2 separate regions of the Homo sapiens genome follow, and region 2 is linked to region 1. Evidence: promoter capture Hi-C in human tissues and cell types (Jung and others, 2019). All regions are on one chromosome and are shown on one strand. The core of a region is centred on a gene start or on the middle of the fragment in contact, and the rest is flanking DNA. Distances in the headings are between cores, read along the strand shown. Region 1 holds the start of ACTR1B (actin related protein 1B). Region 2 has its middle 14 kb from the start of INPP4A.

Region 1 (2,829 bases), core at 118-2,617:
CCCTCCCTTGGGGTCTGGATCGGGACCCCTTTTCCAGCAACAATATTGTTTCTTGAACTCGGTGGTTATGCAAGTGTGTCCACATTTTAATCATTCATTGAAATGTACATGTACACTTGTGATTTCTGCACACCCGCTTCAATTTTACAAATTTTATGCTCACAACCCATTGGGAGAGGTATATATACAGGGAAATAACTATGGATCCGTTTGGTAAACAAATGTAGAACTCAACTATCCTGCACTCTTGAAGCAGCTGACTCCAGTGCCGCAGGGGGCTACCTGCATGCCAATTCCACACCCAATAATCTTGGGCAGGTTACCAAAGTGTGAAGACCCTGACTGAAAAATGGGAGTAATAATACAACTACCTGATATTGTTGCAAGGATTTAATATAACTTATGTAAAGTGGGCAGAAGTGCTCCGCAGGCACAGAGCAGGTGCTCAATAAATGCCAGGACCAAAATACCACGAAACTGTAATTTTTATAAGGAAAAGGATCTTTTCTTCAGTGCTCAACGAGGAAATATTATGGGGCCGTGCGCAATAGCTGACGCCTGTAATCCCAACGCTTTGGAAAGACTAAGCGGGAGGATCGCTTAAGCTCAGGAGTTCGAGGCTAGCCCGGGGAACATAGCGAGATCCCTTCTCTACAAAAAAAATTTTTTTTAATTAGCTAGCGTTGCGCGGTGGCCGTATGGTGGCCAATGAGGTTTATCCGAAGCGCGATTATTGCTAATTGAAAACTTTTCGCAATACCCCACCGTGACGACTTGCAATATAGTCGACATCGGCAATTTTTAACAGTCTCTACGGAGACTATTTCAGTAAAAATAAATAAATATGGTGCGCGCCTGTAGTCCCCCCTACTGGCTGGCGCGGGAGGATCGCTTGAGCCCAAGATTTCCAGCCTGAGCGACAGAGCAAGACACCTTACCTAGAAAAAAAGAAAAAATAAATATTTTGGGTGAAATATCCAGGGCCGGCCTCCTTGGAGAGGGCGCTCTCACGAAGGAGCGTGGCCCGAGGTGCTGGGACGCGGGAAAGACGTCTTTCTGGACCGGTGCTGGGACGCGGGAAAGACGTCTTCCTGGACCGGTGAATTTCCAGCTCCACAGACTCCGGCCGCGCGCACACCAGCCCAGCTCCACTTTCTGCCGCCCGCGTCCCCTTTAAGACGGAGCCATGACATCATCCCAGACACTGCGCAGCCTACCTTGGCAACGCCGCGACCACTTTTTTCCGGACGACCTCAATTGGCTGGCCAGCCTCCGGAGGCCCCGCCCCCTTCGCGCAGCCAGCCCCGGGCACCTGCTGTCAATCGGGCCAGGTGGGAGCGATGATTGGCCGCCGGGCCCGCCCTCCAGAAAGCCCCGCGGGGCTCGCGTAGGCTGCAGGCTCGGGGAGGGAGGGCAGCGGCGCCGCGTCGGGAGCCGCCGCCGTCCCGGTCCTCCCGCCCGCCCGCCCATCCGGTGCCTCCTGCAGCCCGCCTGCTGGGCAGGGCCGGCGCGGCCCGGCCATGGAGTCCTACGACATCATCGCCAACCAGCCTGTGGTCATCGACAACGTGAGGCCCGGCAGCCAGGGGGAGGGCGGGCGCCCCGCCCCCGGGGGCGCACGCGGCGGCGCAGGGAGAGACCCCCGCCCGCCTCGGCGCGTCCTCCGCTCACTGCGTGGCCGTCGCCCCCGCCGGGCCGCTGGCTTCGCCCCGGGGGCGCGCGCCCTCTTGGCCTTGTAAGGCCGGCCATGGGGCGAGCCCCCTCGCCCGCGTCGCAGAGCCTCTTCCCCGACCCCTCCCCGAGTCGGGCGGGGAAGTTCAGGAGAGCTTGAGTGACAGCCGGGCGGCCGGGCGGGGACGCGCCCCGGACTCTTCTCAGTTGAGAGTGCGGTTCCTGGGCAGGTTTCCACACCAGTTCCTTTCCGCGTCCTTCGGCCCTGGCTCTGGCTGCCTGGCGGAGGTGGGGTAGCATTTGTCATTTGCACACTGCTGGCTTTATCTTTGGGGCTGCACCCCGAGGCAACAAATGCAGGATGCTCTGTCACCCACATGTCCACCACCATCTGGTTTGCCTTTTGGCTACTTTGACTTTCTCCTTAAATGCTTCCTGTGCTGAGCAAACATTCCACAGCCAGCAGAGCAATGGAGAGTTCATGGCCACTCTTCCCAGTATCAGCAAGCAATTTGGGGTGATCGTTTGGAAGCCTCAGAGGAAAGATGTCATCAGGCTTCCTGTGGCTTTGTCCTTCAGCAGTGGGGCTCGGCTTGCTTTCACCTGCCTTAGGAAGATTTCTGGCTTCCGAGCTCTGATATGGGGAGAAGATAAGGGCTGGGATCTTTGAGTCTGCCCCTAGCTGGGTATGTGCGTCCGGTGTGCGGGCCTTGGAGTTTTTGGTAATGACTCACTTGTGCTCTTTCTGGGATCTGTCTCCCTCCCACATGACCCCGTGGGGTCCCTGAATGACTGTTTTAGAGTACCCATGTGGGTTCCCTGAGTCACAGCAGGGGATGTTTAATAAGGAGGTTAGCACTGAGCTTGGGGACGTGCTGTCACACCAGCAGGACGCTGCAGGAAGGAGCAGGCTACTTCCTTTCTTGACGTGCAAATAACTCGTATAGGCTAATCAACAGGCTTATAAGTTAAAAGGGCTACCGCTCGGCCCCTTGGGGATTCCATCCCCTCCTCTGTAACTTGGAGATGTTTGTTTCTGCTGCAGACTCAGAGGGTTGCGATGAAGAGTGGTGGGACTGAGTTGAGAAGCTTATCCCTTCGCTGGGTGGGAGGTTTCTAATTGCCCCGTTCTTTGGGGGATCCTTAAGTCCAGCTTCC
Region 2 (2,700 bases), core at 177-2,676, 770 kb before region 1:
ATATTAGTATTATTCACCAAAATATAACCTAAAGAAGATTGAACACCATTTTGGCAATCCCATGTAACTAAATATGTCAAATAATCCTGTTTACCTCTCTTTTGGATACTCCAGGGGCCCTCTGTAGCATCCAAATGTCAGGCATCAGGAAAGACAATTTTGAAACTGAAGTTTGATTTTAGGAAGTCTGTTAAAATATGTTAGAAGTTTAAAACACTTGATGTTATGAAATAGAATTCCAGATTACCATGTTACTTATTTTGCCAAAATGATGACTCAGAAGTTTAAAAAACAAAAACCTTTTATAACCCTAACAAATTTTGCTAAAGAGAATATTAGTGCCTTAAGAGTACCTTGCTGTGCTTTTATTTCAATGCTCAATTTACAGAAAAATCATATAATACCCTTTTGAATTTAGTCAATATATTCACACATGGAATTTTTGCAAGATTAATTTTTACAATCCTTCCATTATTTGTTTAAACCTTCAGCTTTATCTTATCTAATTCAAAAATCATCCTTTAACCCTAGGCAAGGATTTACATTTCCATGCTTTTGTACAATCTTTTACTAAAAACACATCTTACTGTTCTTATGCACCTCACATGTAAATCTATTTCCAGTACTTTCAATTTCATGTTATAATGGTCATTCTTAGCGATTTTTAACTTTAATGCAAAACCTAGTAATTTAATTATGTGCTGGGTGCAGCCAAGGTTTGACTGCTTCCAGCATAATTAAGGGCATGGTTAATTCCATATGTTCCCAGGCCTTACCAATTGTGAAGCAGGCAAGTCAAACAGTTCTCAAAAACCAAAAAGGCAGTTTATAACCTTAAAACATTTAGCAAACTTAGTATCTGACCTGCATAATTTAGTTCACCTATTTACATTTTGAGGACATCTGCATTTCACCAATAATTTTTAAGGCTGTTTTTATTTCTCAAAGATTAAAGTCATGTGAACTAAAAGGTACCACAGCTTTTATTTTCCCTTTAAAAAATATTTGATCCAAGCACTGTTGGGAACAAGCCCCCCAAAATCTGGCCATAAACTGGCCCCAAAACTGTCCATAAACAAAATCTCTGCAGCACTGTGACATGTTCATGATGGCCATAAAGCCCATGCTGGAAGATCGTGAGTTTATGGGAATGAGTGCAAGGAACACCTGGCCCGCCCAGGGTGGAAAACAGCTTAAAGGCATTCTTAAGTGACAAACAATAGCACGAGTGATCTGTGCCTTAAGGACATGCTCCTGCTGCAGTTAGCTAGCCCAACCTATTCCTTTAATTTGGCCCATCCCTTCGTTTCCCATAAGGGATACTTTTAGTTAATTTAATATCTATAGAAACAATGCTAATGACTGGTTTGCTGTTAATAAATATGTGGGTAAATCTTTGTTCGGGGCTCTCAGCTCTGAAGGCTGTGAGACCCCTGATTTCCCACTTCACACCTCTATATTTCTTTGTGTGTGTCTTTAATTCTTCTAGCGCTGCTGGGTTAGGGTCTCCCCGACCGAGCTGGTCTCGGCAAAGCACTGATCTTCCTTTAGGCCAATTAATTAGAGGTCTTTTTATAGACATTACACACACGATGCATATATAATGAGAGTAGCAAGAGAAAATGGAGAAAAAGAATTTAGTCAACTGAGAAAAAACCCGTTTCCAGCAAAACAAGATCCAAGAAAAGAAAAACATAAAGGCCTTTTAAATATACCTATAACTAGGATATCCACTTTTAATTAAGCTGAGCACTCTTTAAGAAAATCCCTTTAACTCCCTTATTACCTGACTTTAGCCCTGCCAAGTGGCCAATATTTCTGGCTTTCAAATCTTACTGAAAGTAACCTTGCAGGTGAAACCAACAAGCCTCAATTAAGACTATGATTTAACCGTGAGTATATGAGGTATTTTCAAACGGGGTAAGCAGTTCTCACAAAATTTAGAACCTTTAAAGATGACCCAGAGAAAGGAAGATTTAAGAAAAAGCCTAGACGTTGTTCATGGAGAAGAAGAGAGTCAGCAAATGGCAAAAGTCACACAGGTATCAACCTTAAAGTACTGAGTCTCTAAGCCAGGATTGAACCCCGGCTACACTGTAAAATGGCAGAGGCTAAACAAAGCATTGCCACGTGGTTACAGGCCAGCTTCCAAGGGCATAAAGCAAGATGGAAGCCTTCAGCAAAGTTTGCTACAGACAATTCACATAGGCGTGCAAAGCACACCAGATTGGCTACACCTTAAGACCAACCTCACAAATCCTTTTTCATAATCAAAACTTTGCAGAGACTATAAACAGTGATCCTTCTCATTCCTGGCCTAGTAAAACATCTTCGAAAAGGAAGAAAAAAACAAAAAAAAAACCCCTCTCACTTAAAAGTGTACTGCTGACAGTGTAGAGAAAAGGAAAAAAAAAGTTTAAAGTGCAGAGTTGGAAAGATGCCTGGGGGAAGAACCTCTTATTCTTATACAAACGGGTTCCTAGCCCTGGCCGGGAGCAAGGCAGGGGAGTCCCCGTTTGCCCATTCATCCCTCGAGCCTGCAGCCATTGGGGTGGGCTCCTGCACAGCTTCCTCTACCTCAGAAGAAGTCTGAGGACAAAAAGGCTTAGAAGTGAAAGGGAAAAAGAATTTTTGGTTCACATCTTACCCCTCCTCAAGCCCCACGTCTGGGCGCCAAAATGTTGCAGAACTTTGCTCCTT

The links. The method cuts DNA at HindIII sites, captures the fragments that hold promoters and counts their contacts. A contact is called where the count stands out against the background at its distance.
Region 2: a contact is called between a fragment that was not itself captured here and the fragment with the promoter of ACTR1B in region 1, in 1 of the 25 tissues and cell types used here (hippocampus).

What each region holds. Positions count from the first base shown.
Region 1 is chr2:97,662,582-97,665,410 of GRCh38, reverse strand. ACTR1B (actin related protein 1B) reads left to right here and starts at 1,367. Exons shown (of 11, transcript NM_005735.4): 1 at 1,367-1,568. The coding sequence starts at 1,521. It overlaps LOC124900516 (U4 spliceosomal RNA), which reads left to right and starts at 680; the gene lies at 680-820. It also overlaps a transcript of C2orf92 not described here and the pseudogene RNU4-8P. RefSeq lists enhancers at 849-1,188, 2,229-2,298, 2,264-2,829 and silencers at 1,269-1,728, 1,809-1,868. The HindIII fragment of the contact is 10,185 bases long and covers 1-2,829 here.
Region 2 is chr2:98,429,924-98,432,623 of GRCh38, reverse strand. No RefSeq gene overlaps it. Among named protein-coding and RNA genes, the nearest start is that of INPP4A, 14 kb to the left of the region's middle. The HindIII fragment of the contact is 4,356 bases long and covers 1-2,700 here.